Regions from separate parts of the Homo sapiens genome. Here regions 2 and 3 are each linked to region 1. Evidence: promoter capture Hi-C in human tissues and cell types (Jung and others, 2019). All regions are on one chromosome and are shown on one strand. Each heading gives the region's core, a stretch centred on a gene start or on the middle of the fragment in contact. The rest is flanking DNA. Distances are from core to core; before and after follow the strand shown. Region 1 holds the start of TMEM229A (transmembrane protein 229A). Region 2 overlaps POT1 (protection of telomeres 1). Region 3 overlaps LINC03043 (long intergenic non-protein coding RNA 3043).

Evidence for each region. The method cuts DNA at HindIII sites, captures the fragments that hold promoters and counts their contacts. A contact is called where the count stands out against the background at its distance.
Region 2: a fragment that was not itself captured here is called in contact with the fragment with the promoter of TMEM229A in region 1 in 2 of the 25 tissues and cell types used here (dorsolateral prefrontal cortex and hippocampus).
Region 3: a contact is called between a fragment that was not itself captured here and the fragment with the promoter of TMEM229A in region 1, in 2 of the 25 tissues and cell types used here (adrenal gland and dorsolateral prefrontal cortex).

The regions. Positions count from the first base shown.
Region 1 is chr7:124,030,318-124,035,297 of GRCh38, forward strand. TMEM229A (transmembrane protein 229A) reads right to left here and starts at 2,750. Exons shown (of 1, transcript NM_001136002.2): 1 at 604-2,750. The coding sequence starts at 2,686. The coding sequence ends at 1,544. The HindIII fragment of the contact is 14,772 bases long and covers 1-4,980 here.
Region 2 is chr7:124,853,418-124,858,397 of GRCh38, forward strand. All of the region lies in intron 9 of POT1 (protection of telomeres 1), which reads right to left. Among named protein-coding and RNA genes, the nearest start is that of LINC03043, 65 kb to the left of the region's middle. The HindIII fragment of the contact is 4,225 bases long and covers 1-3,856 here.
Region 3 is chr7:124,777,919-124,782,898 of GRCh38, forward strand. It overlaps LINC03043 (long intergenic non-protein coding RNA 3043), which reads right to left. Exons shown (of 4, transcript NR_167671.1): 3 at 4,085-4,158. Among named protein-coding and RNA genes, the nearest start is that of LINC03043, 10 kb to the right of the region's middle. The HindIII fragment of the contact is 8,850 bases long and covers 1-4,980 here.

The sequences.
Region 1 (4,980 bases), core at 1,500-3,999:
AGTATTTTGGCTAAAATAATGTTTTGCATGGTCCATTTCACAGGTGAGGTTGATTATATAGCATTCATTACTCTTAATTTAGCTTACAACCTCAGATAGTGGTTTAAAATATATAACACTCATAACTATGTCTAAGTTAATCAAATTTAAATTATTTTCTACTCCTGTAGCAAACATTTTTTGAAAACAGAAAAAAGTCCCTTTTTACAGCATAGGCTCGCTGATAATTTGAATAGAAAACCACTCATTTCTATACATGAAATTTTCCTGATTGTCTTTGTAATAAAAACTGAGAGGATATTCGTCATCCCTGGCTGAGCTGCACTGAATTCTACTCTTTTATACATGTAATAAAACAGCAAACAACATCAAAATACATTATTAATTAGGCATGAATTTCTTAAAATGGTTTACATCATCTCATTTAACTTCAGAGCTTGCAGACATTAACAGTAAGTCACCACAAAGCTACCATTGATTTATAATGCACATTACCACATCAAGCCTGGCCCAAGGACTCTGGGCCCAGAAGGAAAAACAGCCATGGCAGAAATATAATGAAAACATATCTGTATTCACAGAAAACAATTAGGCTTAATGTAATTAGAGTGAACATTCAGGTTCATTTTATTCAAAGGTAATGTTTCTGCCCTTGAAGTTCCATGTAGAAAAGGGTCCTTGGAGTTAGAACACTGTGGAAGGTGATATAATTTCACTTGGCCCTCGGCTATGTAAGGTAAACATTTTACATTATTGCACAGTAACAAAAATTTACAGCCATAGATAACACAGGATCTGATCAACGTTAACACACCTGCTGTTTAAGGCTTACCCACATTGGAAAGCAATCATTTCCAGGATGGAGATCAAATATCTTAACACAGTGTCACCTGTGTGAGTTGCTAGAAAAGACCTCTCATTTAAAAATCTGTTCATAGAACGTGCTTTCACATTTTTCAGCCTCTTTTCACTTGTGTGCTAGACGGAGGCACTTTAAGAGCTATTAACTGTAGTCTCAAGAGTACAAGACATTGAGTTTCTTCAGTCATTGGTAAATATGGCAAGGAATTAAAATGAAATTAGATTAAAAAGAAAGTAAAACAAATCACTGAATCAGAAAATTTAGCCAAATCTTGTAAAAATCACTGGTCTCTGATTTAAAGATCCCCCCCCGCCAAAAAAAAAAAAATTAGTAGCTGTCACTCATCTGTTGCCAGATGGGTAAACACTACTACATCATTCTGATGTTAAGGTATAACGGTTTTGCTGTTTGGGCGTGTAAACGTTTGGGCTTGTAAATGTTTTAAAACATTGGCAAATAAAGTACTTTGAATTATGTTTCGAGTAGTGTTTCAAAGTATATTATACACGGGTTTCAAATAGAAAAACTAAAAGGTGGAATAAAACAATTTGGAAGAGTTTAGTAAAGCGTATAAAAATTAAAGGACTAAAAAACCCACTTCATTTTAAATGTGTAAAAATAAATCGCATCCATTCGTGGGAATCCAGTGACTTTTTCCTTTTCTTTCTTTCTTTTTTGGTTTTAGTTAGCTGGTACGTACTGCACCCTCCACAACACGTTGGAAATTAGGTCCTGGTACACACTAAGGAATATCCAGCCAGGTAAATACATCAGGGTGATGAGGCCCATAAAATTGAGCGGGTAGTGAGAATAGTCCCAGGAACAAGCCCCGCACGTGCGGAGTCCCAGACCCCAGGACAGCTCCCACACGTAGATGAAGATCACGTAGATGGGCACCCGCTTCCAAGTGCCCCAACCGCGGCTGTAGTGGAGGTGGAAGTAGAGCTTTTCCACCACGAAACTGCAGCTGCCGTACATAAAGAAGGACCAGAGCGACGTGTGGCCGCTGGTTGTCCCGTCCCCCTGCCCCAGTACGTTGAAGAAGAAGGTGAAGAAGATCTCATCCAGAAAGCCGTGCATTCCGAAGAAAAGAAAGCGGGGTAGGTCGGGCAGCCCCTGGCTGGGGGCTCCCCCGGCGCCCCTGGGGCCACGGGGTCGTCGCCGCCGGGCTCCGGCCGCAGTAGGGACCCGGGCGCCGGGAGGGACGGGGAGCGCGCCCCTCCGCTGCTGCTGCTGCTGCTGCTGCTGCTGTTGCTGCTGCCGCCGCCTCTGTCGCCCGTACCGCAAGCGCAGGAAGCGCTTCAGGAACACTTGGCAGTGGTAGAGCGCCAGCACGTACTGCAGCGCCAGGTCCAGCGCCCCTGGCGCCACCGCGACCCCCGCCCCGCCGCCCAGGCTGAGTAGTAGCGCCTGGCCCGCTAGGGTCTGCAGCCCCACGTGGGCCGAGGGGTAGAGGAGGAAATTGAAGACGAAGGCGTTGGGACAGCGCCGCTGCTGCAGGTACACCTTCTCCAGGGCGAAATGGGTGAGCGAGTGCAGCAGGCAGCGGTAGGGCGAGGAGAAGCCTAGCATCCGCAGGTCCGGGCTGCGGGCGAAGCGCCGGGCCGAGGACACCAGCACGTCCAGGGTGATCCCGTGCATCCCGTAGAAGTAGAGGCGCATCCAGGCGGGCAGCGTGGCGCTCTCAGCCGGCGCTTCAGCAGTGGACAGCGGCTCCGGGCAGCCGGCTGCCGCCTCGCTTCCTGGCCCGCCAGGGGCCCCCGGACGCCGCGCCGCGCCGCCCCTCCGTGCGGGGCCCTCGCTGTCCACGTCGCTCCCCGCCATGGGCTCGGAGGCTGTCCGAACGCCCGAGGCTGCACCGCCGCCGCTGCCGGGTGCGCGGAGCTGCAGGGCCGAGCGGCCGAGCCCCGCGCCGCCTCCTGGCCGCTGCCGGCCCCCGGGGGGCGCGCAGGGAGCTCCGTCCCGGCCGCGGTCCCGCGGCAGCGGGGGCTGATGCACTCAGGGGACTCGCGGGCCGCCCGGCTAGCGGAATCCCCCCGCCGTGGCCCCGCTGCGCCCTCCCTTCCAGTCCCGGGCGAGGTGCCGCCCGCCCGCGCCCGCTCTAGCTCTCACCCTGCGCGGCCTAACGGGCACCGCGGCCCAGCCAGGGGAGGCGGCGCCGGGGCTGTGAGGGGAAATGCAGAAGCTTGTGGAAGCCCCATCCCCTCCGCTGCTTAGCCCCGCGCCTCCGCTGCAGGCTCTGGGAACGTAACGCGAGCAGCGGCGGCCCTGCCCCCGCCCTGCCAATGCCCCTCTCCGCCTGCCTCGACCTCTCCCGCCTTCTCAGGCCGCCCCCACGCGCCCGCCCGCCGCACCGAGTCCCACAGGGTCTGCTCGGGAAGGCCCGGCCCTGCTTCTTCCTCCCGGTGCGCCCACTCAACACAGGGGCTCCGGTCGTGCGGGGGGCGCTTGCTGGGCGGAGGCACTGAGTGGAGAAACACCTAACAGGTGTGACTGCAAGTTGATGGGCATTCCCTGCATCGCGGCAATCAGGGCCAGGGCCTGGCTGGCGGAGACGAATGGCTGAGTGCCACGGGCTGGAGGCTGGGCTCAAGACCAAAATATGGTGCTGTATACTTAATGTTCTTATTCAAAGCCAGCTGTGTCCCAGTCATAGAGAATAAACTCGAGACTCCACGCCTGCCCGCCCCTGCGTTACCCTCCATCTAAATTGCTGCCGCGGGGCCTGATCCACTTTTCCAATCTATTTCTTGGCCCATCTACTTTTCTGGGTTTACTCAAGGCCAAGGACAGAGATTCGATGTCCCCCAGAATTTGTGAAATGATTTCAGGCCAGTTGGGTTGGGTTGGGGTGTGGAGAAGAGGAAATGCTTTGTTCTAGCTACTGTGGGGTCTCAGGTGGAGAATAGTACCTCGTCCTGGCACACCCCGCTGCTGGGTTCTTCTTTTGGCAGAACTAGGTCATCCCAGAAATGGAGAGTGACATAAAGGGCCAGGGTTTATCTTTTTCTATCTTTTCCCTCCCTCCCTTCACCTCTCCCCTCTTCTCCCTTCCCTCATTCCCTACTTCCTCCCCTCCCCTCCCCTCCCCTCCAATCCCTCCCTCCCTCTCTCTCTCCCTTCCTCCCTCTTTATCTCCTTCCTTCCTTCCTTCCTTCCTTCCTTCCTTCCTTCCTTCCTTCCTTGGTTGAGAGAGTGGAAGGGGTTCAGAATGTTGGTGTGTTGGTTCCACCATTCTCTCCAATTTTGAATCAGTCTTGGAACTGGAAAGAGCCTCGGGGGTGAATTATACCGATTACCTCCCTCTTTCTCCTCCTTCCCCCGAAATTCATGTGCGGATAGATAACAGTTCTGTGTTAGAGTTTAGATCCTCCCTTGATGAAAGGCTTTCTGGGGAATTTTTTTTTTTCCTTCTGGCGAATAGACATAATGAGGCTGATCCTCTATTTCTAAGGCAACCTCCTCCTCACGCTGTCTCCTTGCCTATTTCAGCCCCTCACGTTCCAATCTGTGGTAGCTAAGTTGACTGTGAATTAAGAGAAACTTTCATGTCAGGGACAGGAATGTCAGGAAGTTTTCATGTGAGGGACAGAAATGTCAGGTAGCAGGTTCATCAAACTTGTTGCAAACCAGGTTTGATCTAGTTGCCCAAGTGCCTGAGCAAATACATTGAAGGGAAATAATGTAAACATTTTTGTGAGCACCTTGCTATGCCTACACTGGGAAAATAAAGGGTTATAAGATGCTCTCTTTAAGAAGTGTGTAATCTAGTTAAAATGATAATAATCTATTATGCCTTCATAAAGCCTACTTATGATTATTATCAATAATAACTGATCGTGATCATTTAATAGTAAATACTAGATGTTTGTACTACTAGATTAATGTTTATTTTGAGTTTTTATTTCATTAAATAAACTCAATCCTGGGCCCAATTTATCAGATATTACAAACAAATGCACTCTTTCTCCATAACTGCTATTTAGACAACGGAAAGCACTTCTTCATAACACCATAAATGTAGTCATTCAAACATGTATATGCTAACTTGCTATATTAAACCTGAATTGTTTTCAAATAGCAAATTAAACTTCAAGGGCCCAAGTCTTCTATTTATT
Region 2 (4,980 bases), core at 494-2,993, 820 kb after region 1:
ATTAAAATGTGAAAAAATATTGTGTCTTAGCATCAATAAAATATAATGGTTAAGAAACCCATTACCTAAACGGAATTCAAGCCCTCTATTTGACTAAGGTTTCTGAAAATGCCTTGCTTTAACTAGTTTAAGGATTAATTAAATATGATCCTGAAGATACTGTCATTACAAGAATGCTAAGAAGAAATTTTAAATATGGTACTACCGAAAAATAATAAACATCTTCCATCTTACAAGTTCTATGGAAAGAAAACTTCTGCATTTGTGCCTGTACCACCACAGTGTGAAACACTCCTTGAGTTCAAACGTAAGAGTTAACTAATTAGAGTTTTGAATTAAATGTTCTATAGTTAATCTCAGATGTTTTGCTAAACTTAGTCTACAAATGTCTTTAATTATAGACCACTGAGATTTTTCTTTTAATGGAGATTTCAAATGAGAGAGATGCAGAATGCTATTCAAAGATATTGACACCTACCTAAAAGAAGCTATATAACCTAAATCACATTTATATTTATGAAGAAAGATTTAGAAGCAAAAGGAGTTACAAACAAGGAAATTTAATTCATTTGTATAAATATAGCACTCCTGACTACTGGATGACTATAGGGATACCACTTTTTTTCCCCTACAAGTTCAGGATTGAATAACAGACATCTTACATAACAAAAAAACTATATAGGTTAAATATTCTTTATCTGAAATACTTGAAAACAGAAGTGTTTCAGATTTCAGATATTTACAGATTTTGGAATATCTGCATATATATAATGAGCTATCTTAGAGATGAGACCCAAGTCTAAAAACGAAATTCATTTATGTTTCACATATATGTTATACACATCACCTGAAAGTAATTTTCTATAATATTTTCAATAATTTTGTGCATGACACAAAATTTTTGTACACTGAATAATTGGAAAGCAAAGGGTTCACTCGCATACTGGCACTCAAAAAGATCTGCATTTAGGAGAATTCTGGACTTTTAGATTATGGAGGCTCAATCCTATAAAAGGAAACGTTTAAAAAAAAAAGATGAGTAGCAAATCAACTTTCCAATTCTGCTTATTGTAGCTTCTCTTAATTATATTTCCCCTCATTACTCTTTATTTCTGATGGAGGATATAAGCAAAGGAGGTAAGGAGAAAACCCACACTCCCAGGTGCTACTCCTTCATTCCCAAGGATCTTTTTTCCCAACCAATCAAGGGTTTTATAAGGAGCAGACAAAATACAAGCCTTTCCTTTGACCTCTTTCACTTACATCTATATCATAACCAGGGAGTAGTATAAAGAAAGTTAAAGAAGAAAAGAACAAAAAGAAAAAAGAAAAAAATAATTTTCCTCATAGTCTTCAAAGTGAGACATTGGAAAAAACATAAAATTTTCTAGTTTTATCTCATTCTTTTTGACTGGATTATTTTGTGATTCTTTTAAAATATGTGTGTGTATATGTATATATAAATATATTAGTATAGCACATGTATGTATGATCTACAAAAGATTTGAAAGAAGGCCTAAACACATGGAGAAAGATATTCACATACAAAAGGCTTTGATATTACAAAAATGATAATTTCCTCCAAATTAAACTTTAAATTTTATGCAATTCAATCAAAATTCCCAGAAGCTTTCATGGAATCTGAAAAGCTAATCCAAAAACTTATACGAAAGAGAACAGTCAAATCAATTTTAAAGAATATGAGAGGGGGGCTTTACCCTATCAAAAAATACATAAAGAAAAAGGATAATAAACATAGGTATACGTACAAACCTACATATGGAGACACAGAGAGGAGAGCAAAAAAAAAAAAAAAAAAAAAAAAACCAGAGCAGGCAGGAGCTCAAAGAAGGTTCGATGTGTAGAGTTTTATTTCCTAAAATTTAAAAGTGTCTGAAATAAATGTGGCAAAACATTTAAAAAATAAGGTGAACACACGGGTGTTTATTATACTATCTTGTCTACTACAGTATTTTTTAACATAACAAAATTTCGAGGCCAAGATATAAGTTATTCACATAAAGATAAGTTGTTATTATCAAAAATTCCTTATGGAGGCAGCATTGTATTTTTTCAAAAGCTTGACTAAAAATACTATGAAATGTGCCAGATGCTCTATTATAAAAAAACAAGTATTGGTTAATCTTGTCAGTATTAAGATTCCAAAAATACAAATGAAACATCAACCAAAAAATTATAAAAATACAGTTTAAAAAACAACTATAGAAGTCTATTTAAATACTAAAAAAAAACTAGAAACACTAAAAAAAAAAGCAAAGTAAATATGGCTAGTAAGAAATGACTATCCCTTTAGAAATAATCAAACGATTTGTCATAAACGGTCAAGAATTTCCCTTTAGGTTTATTATTTTTAATTCCCTGAATATGTCTCAAAATAGCCAACCAAATCACAGCTGTTGAACTATTGAAGGCCAAAACATAATTATGACCACGTATATTTTATAATTAACAATTGTGTCTGGATAAGAGTAGGGATTTAGAAAGTAAAGCTTTAGTTTCCAGACAAAAGATTTGAAATCTCAGTTTATGTGACTGGGTCTGTGTAAAATGTTTAAGGGAATGATATAACAAAAAGTGAGATTCAGAAAATAGTTAAGGGCAATTCGGGCTCTAAAATACATTGCTTGTAGATGTTGATTATATTATATTCTATAATTGCATTATACTGTCCTCTTTACTAAAATAAAAACACATTTTTTCCTGTTTCTATACAACAAAAGTCTTTCGTACTGGTTCCAGGTATTTTGACACAAAAACGTAATTTTAAACAGTTGTCTTGAAAGTACCAAGAAGAATTCATTTATATCAATGTCACGTGAGTGAAGAGTTCCTAAATTAAGAAGAAATGTTACAGAGGTTGTCAGAAAACAAATAAATGTGATGTCAATGTGTATTAAATAAAAATCTAAAGTTATATTACTTACACAGAGAAAAATCATTTTCATATTGCATTGCAGACAAATAATATAATGCTATTGATATCTTCACAGAAAACACAGTGCCATACATTTTCTTAATTATGTGTGCTCATATCACCCTCTAGTGGGCAAAATAAAGCAGAACATAAAAAAGGAGAAAAGAATCTGGAAAAAAAATCCACAGCATTCACTGATTCATTCATTCAGCAGCAGCTATTACTTACTTCATCCTCACTACAGGGAAAGCACTGCGATAGGTGCTGTTCAGGACTAAGACAAGAAAAGCAGGAAAAGCGGAAACAGAAAGACCTACATTGGAAGACCTGTTTGGAAGCAGTATAGGGAAAGAGAAGGGAATAAAATGGCGAAGGAAGGTATGCAGAGTGTGGAACTGAGGTGAATCTAAAATGTAAATTCATTTTATTTATGAAAGAACTCTATGAAAAAACCTCCAGAACTGAACTTATCATATATTTAATTTTGAAATAAACTAATCAATGTAGATAATATCTTTCAGGGAAATAATGTCAAAAATATATCTTCAACAGTCAGTGTTTTCTGATATGTCACAGATGTATGTGCATACATATATACACACAGAGGACAAAAAAGTACAGTCACTATCTTCCTGGACCCTGGATTTAATCTAATTTATTGATTTGAGTTGAGTAAACTTACTTGGTTTGTTGTTGTTTTGTTTTCTAATTACTATTTTTTCTGTAACCCAGAACAGTATTGATGGTGAACTTATTTGTGATACAATGTAGAATGGATATATTTGCTACTCCATGGCCACTGATTTATAAAGGGAAATTGGGCATTGAAATTCAGATCTTCACTCTTACTGTTTTCTTTTAATTTCCTATAAGTAGGCTAGAAGATATTTGTGATGGAGATCACTTCCATTTAATGCTTTAAAAGATTAGCTCTGCAAAGAGACATTGTGGATTCAAACACTGGCTTCATCCAGATAGGGACAGGAGGCAGGGAAATTCTACGCAGAAGAGGGCAGGTCCCCAGCAAGGACCCTGCTCTCAAGCTGAAAAGCCTGATACCACGGCCCAAAGTGAGAACTTACATCCCTGTTTTCCTGCTCAAATGTTGCCTTTTCTAAAACCATCCATGGCCCACCCCACCTGACATCCTGTGCCCATAAAAACCCCAGGCTCAGCCGGCAGAGGGAAGAGAGGCAGCTGGCCATCAGACACTATGGCTGGATGTCAGAGAGAAGCAGCTTGACTTCAGAGGGACAGCTTGATGGTGTAACCTGGGAGAAGAATCTGGCCAGAGAGGGCCAGACTTCAAGGTAAGACTACCTTCCTGCTCCATCCTCTTTTCACTTCCCCTTCCCACTGAGCCACTTTCATCAGTAATGAAATCCCCTGAATTTACCATCTTCATTTTATTCTTGAGACCTCATTCCTCCTGGATGCTACACAAGAGCTCGGGTGCCACAAGTGTGGTGTGAGTCAGTCACAGCTACCCTGCACTAAGCTGTTAACACTTAAGCTGTCCATGGATGACAGAGCTAAAACAGTACTGTAACACTTCCTCTGGGGCTTCAGGGGTCACCAGCACCCTCTCAGATGCTGCTGTGGGGCCAGTACAGAGTTTGCTTCTGCCCGTGCCCAAAAGCCTTTGCCCTGGCTCCTGCACCTGCTCACCTGCATGCTCCCACTCCTGTGGTCTGAGTGAGTGGAGCTCTCCCCTGCCAGCACTGAAGCGGCTGCCTAGTTCCAGCACCTGTGCACTCCAGTTCCTGCCCGTGAAGGGGTCAGGGAAATACCCTGCTTCAATCCAACTAGCTGTGGAATCTTGAACCACTGATTTAACCTGAGTGCCTCATTTCACATTTGTAGAACGAGATGACTACCATCACCTGTCTTATAGGAGAGTACCAAATGCATATAAAGTGCCTAGCAAAAGTTACTCTTATTATTTACTGCATTATTATTTATCATACCATTCTTTACTACAAAAAGTACTTTCAAATAAAAGATATAATAGAGAAAAGAAATTCCCTACAATTTTTGTTAATAGT
Region 3 (4,980 bases), core at 1,670-4,169, 750 kb after region 1:
CCAACAAGGACTGTATCTCCATCCTGCGGAGCCCACGCAGTTTAATGAGGATGGGGAGGCAGGCATAGTAATTAAAAGTTCCTATAAGCACATGAGGAATTGCAGTGGGCACAGATTTGAAGGAGAGATATGTGGTGCCTAGAATCTATGATTGTAGTATTTTAACTAAACCAGAAATTGAAAACAACTTCTATAAAGAAGTTCTGAAGGACCCTTAGATATTAACTAAGCAGGGAGGGAAAAAGTTATTGTGAGCAGAGGAAACACCCATGTCCTAAGGCATGGTGGCTGGAAAGGGTATGATCAGTTGAGGGGGCTGAAAAGAGGCCATTGTGGCTAACACAGAGAGTGCCAAGGCACTGTGGCATGAATGGCACTGAAGACATGGGGGATCCACATCCTAAAGGGCCTCAGAGGCATGATACAGAGTTCTGTCTCTACCCTGAGAGAGAAATAAAGTCAATGAAGCATTTAAAGGGCATGTTTCTGCATGTGGGGGTGTCACGCTGTCTGAGAGACATGACATGATCAGATTTGTTTTTATTCTCTATTTAATCGTCTCTTAATTTTACCAACAGACAGCTATCCTGTTAACAGTTTCTGTACATGGTAAGAGTAACTGGGGTTGAATATAAAGTGGTTTTACATCTAGACTGTGGAAAGTACAAATAAGTCTACATAAAAAAACACAAGTTTTGCATTTTTTTATGTAAGACAATGCAACTGAATGGCTTTTTAAAATGTATAATTTGTATTCAGAGATAGTATAATTTGCTATTCTTAACATGAAGAGAATCAAGGAAAACCGCCTTCCTATTAAAACCAATTAAATATTTGAATCACCTTTAAGCATGTACATTACACTCTTGCTCCTGATCAATATAATGAGTAAAATATTCTGTACCCGCCAGTATTAGTTACATGCAAAGAAGAATAGTGTCCCCCTTTTTTCCCGGGAACTTAGGAATAGTAAATGCACAAGAGGTTAGAAATATAAGAATTCTGAATATATTCTGGGTATAGCAGGCTGAATAATGCACTGAGTAATAACATATAGAATGACAATAACAATAACTTGCTGTTATGAGTGACTTTAGCAATAAAAAGAAATCAACTCATAGAATATTATCATTTCAAGTCAATCTAGTAATATAGTAATATACCTATAGAATTAGGGACAAAATTATACATGTCATAACATTCCAGTTTTTAACTGATTGAGTGCATGTTATGTGCTAGGTGTTTCCAACATTTCATATTATCTTTGTGAGCTAGTTGTTTGCAGGAGGGGAACTCACAGAGCTTGAAGCCCAGACCTGCTGAAGCCTGAGTGTGAGTAATAGAACCTCACTTCATCCCACCTCTATGTAAACACTCGAGAAGGTGCTAATTTTGTTTTGCAGTAGTTATTTGCACCTAGTGAGGAAGCAGGCATGTAGCCAGAATTTCCAGAACAGCCTAGCTGATGCCATGAGGAAAAAAAAAAAAAAAAAAAAAAAACTAGAGAAAGGCAAAGGAAGCTTCTCCTACCTGATGGTGTTCTTGCTCAATTTAGGCAGTATCATCTGAAGCTACGTAATTTCACAGCAATGCTAAGGTCATATGAGAAGTCACAACTGCCTCTGAAACCTCACTGTGCTAACTCCTGTTTTACGTGTCTGTTCTCTGTTTTTTCTGCCTCTCTAAGTTTCCTAACCATTTGCCATTAAAATCTTATATCTTTCTGTTGACTGCATTCCCATCCCATTGTGACAATATAGAAAGTATTACACTCATTTTATAAAGACACTGAAGCCCTAAGCATAACAGTCACTCCTCCAAATTAACCAGCAATAATAATGAGGTTATAATAAACACAACTATGCCCTTTGCATATGAAACTGTTAGGAAAGGGCAAAACACTGAAGACACACTTACAGGGTGAAGAGAAACAAAAACCAATTCTATAAATGTGTAATCTTGACACTGTGTGGAGAAAATTTAGGTTGTTTCTTTTGATGTTACACAAGAAAATCATATGAGATAATATGAACATGTTTATTTTACCATCAAATAAGCTCTATGAATACAGGAAATGTGTCTATTTCATTCACCTATTTAAAGCCAGCGTCCAGCAGACCCTGTGTGTCATAGCCACTTAATCAATACTTAAATTTTTAAATTTTCAAATGCCTATTGATTTAAATTATTTCATTACTTCATTAAGGTGAAAAAAATGTAGTTTGGTTATTTGAGGAACATAAGTGATGTTTCTGTGAGGGTGTTTTGGATGAGACTGAAATTTAAATTGATGGACTTTGATCAAAGCAGATTGCTGTCTGTGGGTGGGCCCCATCCAATCAGTTGAAGGTCTAAATAGAACAAAAGACTGCCCTTCCCAAGCAAGAGAGGATTCTGCCAGCAGACTGCCTTTAGATTTCAACTACAATACCAGCTCTTCTCTAGACCTCCTTCCTGTTGGCCACCTGCTGCAGGTTTTGAACTTGCCAGCCTCTATAATTTATTGAGCCAATTTTTCAAAGTAAATTTCTCTCTCTTTCTACACACACATGCACACACACACACATACACAGCCTATTGGTTCTGTTTCTCTGGAGAACCCTGACATAATACAATTAGTATTAGCATAACTTTTTAAGGATATGGGTATTTCAGTGTAAACAATCTTAAATGATATACAGACTATTAAGATGAGGTGGAAAGAACATGAAGTAGAAAAGTCACAGGGCCAGGTCCAAGATTTCTCTATTTATTTATTCATTCACTTCTTTATTCATTATATACTTTCTGAGCATCTATGATAACCCCAGACACTGTTCCAGGAGCTGAGGGTACAGTGGAGAAGGACATTGACCAGCTCTTTCCTCTTATGCTTATTTAAAACTAGTGGAATAGATGAGCAATATATAAGTCAACAATTGTATTAGTCAGAGTTCTCTAGAGAGACAGAACTAATAGGATATATTTATATATGAAGAGGAGTTTATTAAGGAATATTTACTCACACAATCACAAGGTAAAGTCCCACAATAGGCCCTCTGCAAGCTGAGGAGCAAGGAAGCCAGTCCGAGTCCCAAAACCTCAAAAATAGGGAAGCTAACAGTGGAGCCTTCAGTCTGAGGCCAAAGGCCCAAGAGCCCCTGGCAAACCACTGGTGTAAGTCCAAGAGTCCAAAAGCTAAAGAACTTGAAGTCTGATGTTCAAGGGCAGGAAGCATCCAGCACAGGAGAAAGATGAAAGCTGGAAGACTCAGCAAGTCAAGTCCTTTCAACTTCTGCCTGCTTTATTCTAGCCATGCTGGCAGCTGATTAGCTGGTGCCCTTCCAGTTTGAGGGTGGGTCGGCCTCTCCCAGTCCACGAACTCAAATGTTAATCTCCTTTGGCAACACCCTTACAGACACACCCAGGATCAATACTTTTCATCCTTCAATCCAATCAAGTTGATACTCAATATTAACCATCACAAGTAAACAGACAAGTTACTTTCAGAAAGTAAAGAAAAAATAAAACAGGCAGATACGATACAGAATTATTTAGATTGGGTAATCACGGAAGGCTTCTCCAAAGAGGTGACTTTTGAGTAGAAAGATGACTAGAAATAAGAAGCCAACCATGCCAAGATCTGGAGTCAGAGCATTTCAGGCAGAGGAAACAGCAAGTACTAAGGCCTAGAGGCAGGAGAGTATTTGCCCAGAGTACTTGAGACAAATTCCTTGGCCTCTCTGAGCCATGGTTCCTCATCTGTAAATTAATGGTGATGAGACATACTTTAAGAGTTGTTGTCAGAATGAGATAATGTTTATAAGGTCTGAAGCACAACTATGGCCTATAACAGAAACTTGAGAAATGGTCATTATTAAGGGAGTGTAGCAGAAAGGTATAATTTAAATTGGGAATAGGGGAGCATACAGAAATGACTTTGAAGGAAATTTGAACTAAACTCTGAAGGATGAACCAGAGGAACCAGAGACTGTCAGATGGTGAAGGAGGAGAATATTCTAAGCAACATTAACAACACACATGTACACCGTGCACGCACACACATGCGTGGTCATACACACACACACATCACACATATCCTTACTTCACTGTGGTTTTGTTGCTGGTGAGCAGGTACGGATTCTTGACTTCACCGCACAAAAGAACTTGAGAGCGAGCCTAAAGTAAGAGTAAGCAAAGTTTATTTATTGCAAAGCAAAAGTACACTCTGAGAGGCAGAGCAAGCTACTCAGAGGCAGACAGCAGCTAGTGCCTCAAAGGAATTCCTTTTATGGGAGCTGTACATACATTTTCATAAAATACGACCTGGGAAGGTCAAATATGCAAAGGCAGACCTGCAGCTGGAGCATGCGCTTAGCAGTAACACACACCGCATGTATCATGCCCTAATACAAATCATGTGTATCATTAGCATATAAAATCTCCACCTAGGGGTGCTTTTTTTTATTATTAAAATGAGGAAAAGTTTACTAAAAGCTAAACCTTGATTCTAGCTGCATATGCAGGACACCAGAGAAGCCCCCGGCCACCCACTTTCCTTTCTCCTCCCCCTTCCCTTCCCCCAAGGCAGGAATTTGTACCTAATAGCTTCTTGGGCTTTTGGTGCCGATTGGTTGGAGAATGGGGAAATTCCATCAGGAATAAGAAACTTTTGTTCTCTTTCCCAGGCCACACTGGATGTCAGGAACTTGTAACCATCTGGTTGGTGGTCTGCTGGTATCCTGTAGGACTGCTTACCTTGCCAAAGAAGTGCTGATGCACACAAGGATGCAAGGGATGTAGGGCTGTCTGTGGAGGGGCCCGTGGGGCTTCACACAAGGGGACAAGTCAGTATAACCCCGATATGATTTGGCTGTGTGGCCCCAACCAAATCTCATCTCGAATTATAATCCCCACGTATCAGAGGAGGGGCCTGGTGGGAGGTGATTGAATCATGGGGGCCAATTTCCCCCTTGCTGTTCCCATGATAGTGAGTGAGTT